Linked DNA regions of Homo sapiens: regions 2 and 3 are each linked to region 1. Evidence: promoter capture Hi-C in 16 types of primary human blood cells and fetal thymus (Javierre and others, 2016). All regions are on one chromosome and are shown on one strand. The core of a region is centred on a gene start or on the middle of the fragment in contact, and the rest is flanking DNA. Distances in the headings are between cores, read along the strand shown. Region 1 holds the start of CD1C (CD1c molecule). Region 2 overlaps PYHIN1 (pyrin and HIN domain family member 1). Region 3 has its middle 14 kb from the start of AIM2.

Region 1 (3,313 bases), core at 599-3,098:
TAATGTGGTATCTACTATTGTTTTCTAAAACCACAAACCAAGTATTTGCCATTAACAGCACAAGATGAGCAAAGATAACACCTAGTGCTTATGAATGATTTGGGTAGGATTTGAACTGGGTATTGCTCTTAAAGATATTATAGTTCATAGAAATTGCCACATATCTGTGGCCATGATAGGAAGAGCTCATTGAGAATGACTTCTGGCCTCACTATTAACGTTGACAAACCTAAGAAATAGTGTATATATCAAAGTATCATGTTGTACACAGTAAATACATAGAATAAATATAAATTTAAAACAGAAACAATGTTACAAATGGGATTTTCCTTTTTAAGGCACGGTCTTGCTCTGTTACCCAGGCTGGAGTACAGTGACATGAACATGGCTCACTACAGCCCTGACTTTCAGGGCTCAAAAGATCTTCCTGCCTCTGCCTCCCATTTAGCTGGGACTACAGGCATGTGCCACCACATTTGGCCAACTTTTTAATTTTTTTATCGAGATGAGGTCTAACTTTGTTGCCCAGGCTGGTCTCAAACTCCTGGGCTCAAGTGATCTTCCCACCTTGGTCTCCCAAAGTGCTGGGATTACAGGCATGAGTCATTGTGCCTAGCACAAATTCATGCCCAGATTTTAAGTGACTGCTCCAATGCATTCAGTGAATAATTAATATGATTTAAGAAACACTATAATAATAAATGTATTTCCTGGATCTCAAAAAAACTGTGTTCATGTATTTACACATATTAACCAGCCAGGGTCACTGATAAGTCACTGAATACTTCATATAAACTACTTAAATCAAACATTGACAAATGCTGCCCTTTTTATACAATGTGTTTTGGTCAGATCACAAAACAACTTAAATTTGGATTTTTGTGGTCTCCCCATGTATGAGTCCTCTTGAAAAGCTGCATGTTCTGACTATCACAATCGTATACCATTCCACACTGTACAGAATTTTCAGTATTTAGTTGAGATGCATGCTGTTCTTCCAGGACTTCAAATTATGAACTTCCCAGGGGGTTAGTCAGTCAAAATGCTGCTCTAGAGAATATAGTTCTAAGTAGATTTGTATCTGGGATTCTATACATTGAAATTAAAATCACAATGCATTTTAATTTTTTGTTTAAACATCTGCAGTTTAAAACTCTTTGATAGAAGAGATTACATTGTTAACCTCTGTGTGTTTATATGCCTAGTAAGACACTGGTATCAACCATGTACTATGTAATTTTTTAGTGAATGACTATACAGATTAAATGCAGTAGAAGGGCTTCTTTATATTTGTTATGGTCCTATGCATTCTGAATGGCTGCAATTTAATCTCTAAGGATAATGTAGAGTGGACTGTAGTTTATATAATTGTGCAGGGAAATCTTGGAAGATGTAAAAAGCAACGTCTCCAATTTATAAAAGAATCAGTGAGAATGAGGAAATAAGAAAGATGGGTGAAAAGAGGTGAAATTGGAAAGAGAAAACTTTGAGGACATTCAAAAGGGGGAAAGAAAGAATGGAGTGATGAGAAGAGGGGACACTATGGAGAGTGGAGGCAAAGTTAAGTGGAGAAACTGGAAGAACTGTGATCTATTAAAACAAGCAGGAACTGAAAAAATGACATGGTTTCTCCTTTTTATCTTACAAATGACATGCAAAATCCAGAGGGACAAAATGACCTTTCTTTCAATGCCATACACCACTTTGTCTAAGGCAGTTGAGGAAGGGAAGTAGATATAATGGAGCTTAGTGGCAGAGCAGCTGGAATCCTGAGAGAAGAGAATAACTTTAGTTCAGAGCAGGTGGGGAAATGAGAGATTGAGTAGGAGGACCAAGGTTGAGGGAAGCAGATCTTCTTAGTTGCTGTCAGCGGCTGATGGGGAAGATTGTTGGTAGAAGGAAGTCAGAATATAGGTACAGAGGGATAAGTTTGCTAAGAACAGAGATCAGCAAACAGCTTTTCTGAGAGAAAGAAACATCTGCAAATGACATGCTGTTTCTGCAGTTTCTGCTGCTAGCTCTTCTTCTCCCAGGTGGTGACAATGCAGACGGTAAGAACATCGCTGTCAGCTGCAAGGTTACATGTATCTGGGTAGAGTGTGCTGGGCTTTCCCGAGATGGATCAATAGAGATGCCAGAATGCTTGCCATCTGAGCATACCTGTCTCCAGGTCCAGTTTACTCTTTTGGAGGATGGTGGCAGAGCATGGGCTCTGTGTAAGGAAAATGTTATAGCTAAAGTAGTCATTAATGTTTCTCTGTGGTAACTGGTTCAATTTCCATTTCCTCTCCATTTTCCGTTAAAACAATCAGGGCCCAGGAAAATGATGTGGTTTCTCCTTTTTATGTTACAAATGACACGCAAGGTCCAGAGGGATGAAGCAACCTTTCAATGCCACGCACCACTTTGTCTAAGGCAGTTGAGGAAGGGAAGTAGATAAGATGGAGCTTAGTGGGAGAGCAGCTAAAATCCTAAGGGAAGAGAGTAACTTTAGTTCAGAGCAGATGGGGAAATGAGAGATTGAGTAGGAGGCCTAAGGTTAAGGGAAGCAGATTGTCTTAGTTGCTGTCAGTGGCTGATGGGGAAGATTGTCTGTTGGTAGAAGGAAGTCAGAATATAGATGTAGAGGGATAAGTTTGCTAAGAACAGAGATCAGCAAATGGCTTTTCTGAGAGAAGGAAACAACTGCAAATGACATGCTGTTTCTGTAGTTTCCGCTGCTAGTTCTTCTCCTCCCCGGTGGTGACAATGCAGATAGTATGAACATCTCTGTCAGCTGCAAGGTTACATGTATCTGGGTTGAGCATGATGGGCTTTCCCAAGATGGATCAATGAAGAAGCCAGAATGGTTGCCATTTGAGCATACCTCTCTCCAGGTCCAGTTTACTCTTTTAGAGGATGGTGGCAGAGCATGGGGCTCTGTGTAAGGAAAATGGTATAGCTAAAGTAGTCATTAATGTTTCTCTGTGGTAACTGGTTCACCTTCCATTTTCTCTCCATTTTCCTTGCCTCTCTTTTTTTTTTTTTCCTTACACTACTTGCCCTTCTTCCACCAAAAGCATCCCAGGAACACGTCTCCTTCCATGTCATCCAGATCTTCTCATTTGTCAACCAATCCTGGGCACGAGGTCAGGGCTCAGGATGGCTGGACGAGTTGCAGACTCATGGCTGGGACAGTGAATCAGGCACAATAATTTTCCTGCATAACTGGTCCAAGGGCAACTTCAGCAATGAAGAGTTGTCAGACCTAGAGTTGTTATTTCGTTTCTACCTCTTTGGATTAACTCGGGAGATTCAAGACCATGCAAGTCAA
Region 2 (3,419 bases), core at 368-2,867, 670 kb after region 1:
TGATATAGGTTCTATATGGATTGGGACTTAAAACAAGAAGCAGCCTATTCTTATCATTGATGTCTTATGTTATGTTAACCTAAAGCCAAAAACTCAAATTGACATGAATCAGGACCAGGGATGGTAAGGAAAAGAATTACTCTGAGAAAATTTTTTTAATAATTTAAAATACTAGTCAACCAGAGTATATATTTTCTCATCTAAATTCCACCATTGTGATGGACTGTTTTATTTGGCTGTTTTTGAGAAGATAGTAACTCAAGATGTTTTTGTCAATAAGTGGTAGATATGAATAAAGAAGTTTCTTTAATAAAATACTTTCTATACCAATTTGATCTAGGGTTTCCATGAGAAAGGTAAACAGGGAGTATGAGACATAAGTGATCAGAGTAGACATCCAAATCCCTGCAGAATGAGTATGATACCAATCATAAATGATATTCTACTTTCTGAGTATTTACAGGGTACTGGTTTTTAAAACCTGCATTCTATATGTATATGTATATTATCACATCTCTTTTTCATAACACAGTCATGAGAATGCTACTCACAGCCTTATACATAAGAGAAAACTGAAATACATAGGATTTAAAAATATTCCCCAAGTTCACAAAGATAGTGAGTGTGCTAAATGTAAATTATATGTACTTTATGTATCTTTTCTTATTTGTTCTTCCTTACACTAACTTGATGATGTCATTATTAGTCACATTTCATATTTCTAAATACTGAGGAAATGAGAGGTTAAATCTTCATTTAAGATACTGCTTTTGAGGGCCAAGATGACTAGCTAGAAACAGGTAGTGTGTACCACTCTTGTAGAGAGAAGAGAGTAGCAAGTAAATGCTAGATCTTCAACTGGAACATCCAGGTGGACCATTGAGATCCACCGAGAAAACAACTTTACCCATGGAGAATAGAGAAGAGTGAGACAAGACAATTGCTCACCTGGGAATGGCACGGAGCCAGAGGAGGCTTCTCCACTGCAGGGAAATGGTGAGTGAGTGAGAGTCTCTGGGGACCCATACTTCTGCCACGGACCTTTGCCACCCTGGGCTCAGGAGATACCCCTATGAGACCACCCCACTGGAGCCTTCAGATTGAGAGGGAAAGCTAAGTGGAGCCTGGGCAGAGCCACCACTCAGGCATACAAGGAACCCTTGGAGCCTTGGATCCAAGTATCCTGGAATTAGCGGCTGCAGCTCTGGCAATAGGGGAGGTCAGGCTGCCTCACAGGCCTTCAGAAAAGGAGCTGAATCCAGGGGACTAAGCAGCACTGGACTCTAAGCCTCGCCTCCACTGCACCTCACAGGATAAAGTCCACTAGCCTAGTACTCCAGCCACCCCCCTGCCTGAGCTCATGGGCCGGTAGCAGCTCTGCACTTCCCTGGGTTGGAGCCCCCAGAGGGAGAGGAAGCCCACCATTTTTGCTGTTTCACAGCCATTGTCACGGCTGCCTTCAGGCCCTGGAGAGTGTGTGGTGATTAGGGACTGGCTGGATCCCCAGCACAGCACAGATGCCTCATGAAAAAGTGGCCAGACTGTTTTATACGTGGATTCCCGATGCCAGTTCTCCTCACTGGGCAGGACCTCCTGACTTCAGACTCCAGTTACTCCCTACCTGGGCTTTGGTGACTATAGCATCTCTATACTTCCCTGGGATGGAGCTCCTAGAGGGAAAGGTAGGCTGCCATTTTTTCTGTCTTGCAGCCCTTGCACCAGTTGCCTTCAGGTTCTGAAGGATGGGCAGTGATTAGTGATGGGCGGATCCCCAACACACTGGAGCCACCCCACGGAGAAGTGATCGGACCGTTGTATCCGTGGGTCCCTGTTCACATTTCTCCTCACTGGGTGGGGCCTTCAGGCCTAGGACTCGAACACAATTACCCTGCCCCCTCCTGAACACTTCAGTGGAAAGCAGCTTTGCATTTGTCTCAGGAGAAAATCTCAGAGACAACCCACAACTCCTCCACCATTGCAGCTGCAGTGGCACTGCCCTAACTGCTCTCGAGCTGGGAAAGAAACAAAGGGCCTGGTCACTACACTGGCACCTCCAGCACACAGCAGCGAGCATTGGAGAGGAGTCCAGTCTCTCTTCCCTATGAGCTCCCAGCCCTACTCTTCATCAGACAGGGCTCCTGGCTTTGAACTGCAAAACAGCTGCCCCACCCATGGCTAAGCATACGGTCTGCTAGTAACTCTGTGTTTCCCTGGGGAGGGGGTCCCAGAGGCAACTGACAGCCCCACTGCAACGGCCACAGCAGTGGTTCTGCCCCTGATCCCCTTAGTTCAAGGAAGAAACAAAGACCCCGAGAGTTTCACCTGCGCTTCCAGCACACCACAGTCACCATACAGGCAGCAAAGCACAGTCCCTCCTCCCTATGAATCCTCAGTGCCCCACTCCTCAACGAGCTGAGCCCCTAGTTGTGGCCAGCAATGTAACTTCCCATTCTCTAGCTGAACATTCCCAGTAGCAGCGGCTCTGCATCTCTCTGAGGTGCAGCTCCCAGAGGCAACCAAAAGCCCCTCTGCCACTGCTGCTGCAGTGGTACTGCCCTGCTGCCTTCAGACTGGGGAAGGAACTGCAGTTGCCCTAAGGAGAAGAACTCAGTCTATCTCTCTTGTGACCCACCCGTAGCCCTGCTCTTCACCAAACCGGGACCCTCTGGCTTGGGCCCACAGCACAGCTGCCCCATCTTTGGCCAATTGCACTGGCTGATAGCAGCTCCTCGTTTCTCTGGGGTGGACCACCAAGAGTCAAGTGAAAGGCCCTCTGCCATAACCACTGCTAAGGTTTCTTCTGCTGCAGCCTTCAAGCTGGCGAGGGAACATAAAATCTGAGCTCATCCCAGAGCTGCAGTGTGCCAAGCCAAGATCTGGAGCCAGTACTCAAGTGGGAAAGGAGCCCACACTTTCAGAGCACTGAGAGGGAGCATGCCCTGCATATGGCAGAGCAAGAGCCTACCTACTGGCCAATACACTTAAGCACCACCTACTGGATCACAGCCCAAAACTTCAACACCAAAAATATTTTGCTAATATAGACCCCTGTGTAACCATGGACAAGAATTTAGCTAGAAATTAAAACCCTGCACAAAGCCTCAGCTCTCTAACAACATCCAGGAAAGAAGGTTTCTAACTACTCAAAAGAAACAGTGCAAGAACTCTGGCAATTCAGAAAGCCAGAGTGTCTTGTTTCCTCCAAAAGATTGCACTAGTTCCCCAGCAAGGGTTCTTAACCAGGCTGAAATGGCTGAAATGACAGAAATAGAATTCAGAATATGGGTAGGAATTAAGATAATTGACATTCAAGAGAAAGTTAAAACTCAGCTCAAGAAATCTAAGGGTTTCAATAAAATGATACAGGAGCTGATAGAAAAAATGGCCATCATAAAAAAGAACCAAACTGATCTGATAAA
Region 3 (3,430 bases), core at 331-2,830, 800 kb after region 1:
GACTGAAACAATGACTAAGAGCAGCTGTGTTCACAGGTATCTCCATTTTCACATTTTAACTTAGTTCATCACCAAACCCATTACATCTTACTTCCCTCCTTCATACTTTATTCAAAGAAAACACTGACGAATTTCTTAAGAAAACTTGGTTAAGGACTGTCATTTGTATGAGATGGAAAAAGAGACCATTTCTGGCAAGTGAGACGAGCTGTGAGCTTCTGACCTAGGTGCTTATAAGCATTATTTCAATTTAATATTCCTAACAATCCTGCAAAGTGAGTACCGTCATTATTCTTATTTTATAGATGAGAAAATAGAGGCTTAGCGGTGTTTGTGAATGGACTAAGGTCATACAATTAGTGAATGGTAGAAATAAGATTTGAACTTCATCTGGTGTAGCCAAAGCACATCCTCCTAAGCACTAAAAAACACTGCCTCCTGGTGGCAAGATGAAGAAGTTCAACTCCATAACCAAAAGGATAAAAACCAAGGTAGATCAGGATAGAAGCACAGAAGGTAGACATAAAGCATGTCACTTGCTTAAAGAAGCCCCTGTGTTGGATTGTTTGTTCAACCCCCTTACCTACAGGCTCCCCTGCTTAGTTTCACTATCTGGTTCTCCCTTAAGAAGTTTCTTTCCTAGTTTCACTCCTTTACTCTCAGGATAGCTGAATGCAAAACCAAACAAACAAACACAGGATCACTCTGCTTAGTTCTTTAAATTATGTACCAGTCAAAACAAAAATGGCCACTCAAAACATGTACCCTGAGTCCCAGAATCACACAATCATAAGAATATACACATGGTTTCCTACGACGAAGTTATTCTTCTAAGCTTTCCATAAATCACTGCTCTTTCATCTCTGCCCTACCTATTCTATCGGTTTTTAGTTCAGTAACTATTTGTTTTCAGTAACTGGACCCTAGACCCTTCAACCAGACAACCAAAGTGCCTATTTTCCCAGCTGCTAGAAGTGTTACAGCTGACACCTGAGTCTGTGTTCCAGGACTGCCCTATGCTGAAGGGAACTGCCTTCCCCAAGGTTGCATCCTTCCATGGAGAAAGCCTGAAGCCAAGGATTTAGGGTCTATGAGGAGGTTCAAGGTCACAGCCTTCTTGCCTCACTTAGGCATAACTAGAGGCCATCCCAGCTCTAGGGTTCCCAGGGGGATTGGCTGCAGCCCTCACTGCAATTTAACTTCTCCCTCCGCCCAACCCAGTTTCCCTCTCTCCTTTATAGGTGTTCCCAAGAGCACCCTCTAATAAACTTCTTGCAGGCAAATCTAACAGTCTGTTTCTTGGGGACCCAACATAAGACAACATTCAACTCTTAACTTCAGTCATATTCACAAATACTGTCACTTTAAATAAAGTGCAGGAATGCAGTGTAAAGATACATACACCAGAAAAAGATGTGACTATAAAGTGCAAAAATATACCAGAATGTAAAAATAATACATGAATTTAAAGTCCATGAATCAGTCTCTCTCGCATACTGCTAGAAAGCGTGTGACTGCTTCACATTTCATAATTTTGTCATTGTAATTGTCATCACGCCACTAAAATTCCATGCCTTTCAATTTTTGTTTTTGTTTCTATCTCTAAATAAAAATGTTTATTTAAATGCCTTCTATGGACACTTCAGACCAAGTCCAAAACTTTACCTTAAGGTGAAAACTCTTACTATTTTTCCTACAAGGTTGTGTTTGGGAGGTTATTCATTTGTCTTTTATTTTTTACCATGAGCTGTTTGTCTAGTCTCCTGACATGGTAACTGGAGACACAGATCCCTCTGTCAGAGTCAGCATCAAACATGTGTAAGGCATGTTTTGACTCTAGCAAACCATCAGGGAAATAATTTTTGATCGTTCTTTGAGTTAAAATTGTCTTTTACATTGATGCTAAAGACTTTCCCTAAGCAACCTCTACCACATTAGCATAAAGTGTCTGAGTTTCAAAGATTCCACCTCAAATGGCTCCCTTGTGTTCAGCACCATCACTCCCTCCTGGTATTCTTCTTCCTGAGTAACTTCCTATTGACCTCCTTTCCCTTTCAGTCTCTTGCTGAAATGGAAACATCAGAATGAAGGGGCAGGCTGTATGTGGGAAAGATGAATCACCATTAAATGAGAAACCTCAATCCTAATGCTAGTCTTGTAGAAATTGGCTTGTATGGTCCTGAGAATGGTAAAAATAATTAATACAAATAACTTTAAACATTACTTAATAAAGTAACAAATAATACAGCTAGAAAAGAGAATGATAGGATAAAGGTTACATTTTTTATATTTAGCCATTCTTGGTCTTATAAGTGTAGAAGACAGAAAAGCTTGTGTCCAATCCTATTAATACCTTAAAGCCATGTGTGGCATTACAACCACTGAAAAAATGCTGGGTAGAGTCAGTCCACAATGACATGCTTGTCACGACGTGCTTTGGCAGGTTCTGCCTTTCCCTTTACTTATTCTAGGCTGGGTCCCTTTTGACTACTGTCAGCAGTGAAGAGGAGGAGAAACTCCTCTGATTTCTGAAGATTCACAAGTTACAAGACTATCTTATATGCTTGAGGATGGCCAGCATGTAACTGGTGACAATGAACAAAATTATATACTTACAAAGTGCAATCGTTACATTATCCTGATCATCTCTTGTGTTGACAGCAATCTGTAGGATGGGATGAATCAAGGCAGCCAGCTGAAGTCCTGCCCTCTGGATGCCCTTGGGGGAAGGTATTTGGAGAGTAACTTAGGGGGTGATGTATAAAGGATGTGGTAACAAATGTTATGAGTGTGTGTGTGTTCACTGACACACCAGCAATTGCCAAAGCAAAAATGGTGGCTTCGTCCCTCTCTATTGAAAAGGGCCTGCTTAGAATGTGGATGCTTAAACTGCTGTCACCTATAAAAATATTCTAGCATGAAAGGGGCCTCAAGGATACACAAAACAGAAAGTAAATGGTATCCACTGAAGTTAGCAATGTAGCAGGGCCACAGGAAACAGAGGGTGATTGCCCAAGGGCACACACACCCTAAACATAGTCCTATTTCTAATGTTCAAATTAAGGAAAAAAACAATTAAGTGAAATCCTTAGGTGAGTCATCTTATCATGAATTAAAAATTATTGAAAAAAGAGGGCAATTATAACCTAACAATTCTAATTCCTGATATTTGCTGTAGGAAACAAATATATAAACTCATTTAAATAAATGACTATTCACAATTTTAGCAGTAAAACATGAAAATATTATCTGAACATGCAAAACTAAGAGACTAACCACCAAAGTGACTCAGGAAATGATTCACCATGTTGCATAAGCTGAAAACAATTAAGTTACTACATAATATGTAGAAGATGGCCTAAATGTTATAAATATATATATGCAGCAGGAGTTTGTAATAGCAGATAACAATTTTAGCCCTAACTATGAA

What was found. Contacts are between HindIII fragments. The CHiCAGO score rates a contact against its expected background, and 5 or more counts as called.
Region 2: a fragment that was not itself captured here is called in contact with the fragment with the promoter of CD1C in region 1 in 1 of 17 cell types (neutrophils); the score reaches 5.8 in neutrophils.
Region 3: a fragment that was not itself captured here is called in contact with the fragment with the promoter of CD1C in region 1 in 1 of 17 cell types (erythroblasts); the score reaches 5.2 in erythroblasts.

Annotation. Positions count from the first base shown.
Region 1 is chr1:158,288,075-158,291,387 of GRCh38, forward strand. It overlaps CD1C (CD1c molecule), which reads left to right and starts at 1,849. Exons shown (of 6, transcript NM_001765.3): 1 at 1,849-2,051; 2 at 3,060-3,313. The coding sequence starts at 1,991. It also overlaps a transcript of CD1B not described here. The HindIII fragment of the contact is 9,220 bases long and covers 1-3,313 here.
Region 2 is chr1:158,960,639-158,964,057 of GRCh38, forward strand. All of the region lies in intron 7 of PYHIN1 (pyrin and HIN domain family member 1), which reads left to right. Among named protein-coding and RNA genes, the nearest start is that of PYHIN1, 31 kb to the left of the region's middle. The HindIII fragment of the contact is 4,341 bases long and covers 1-3,419 here.
Region 3 is chr1:159,088,953-159,092,382 of GRCh38, forward strand. It overlaps a transcript of AIM2 not described here. Among named protein-coding and RNA genes, the nearest start is that of AIM2, 14 kb to the left of the region's middle. The HindIII fragment of the contact is 1,495 bases long and covers 834-2,328 here.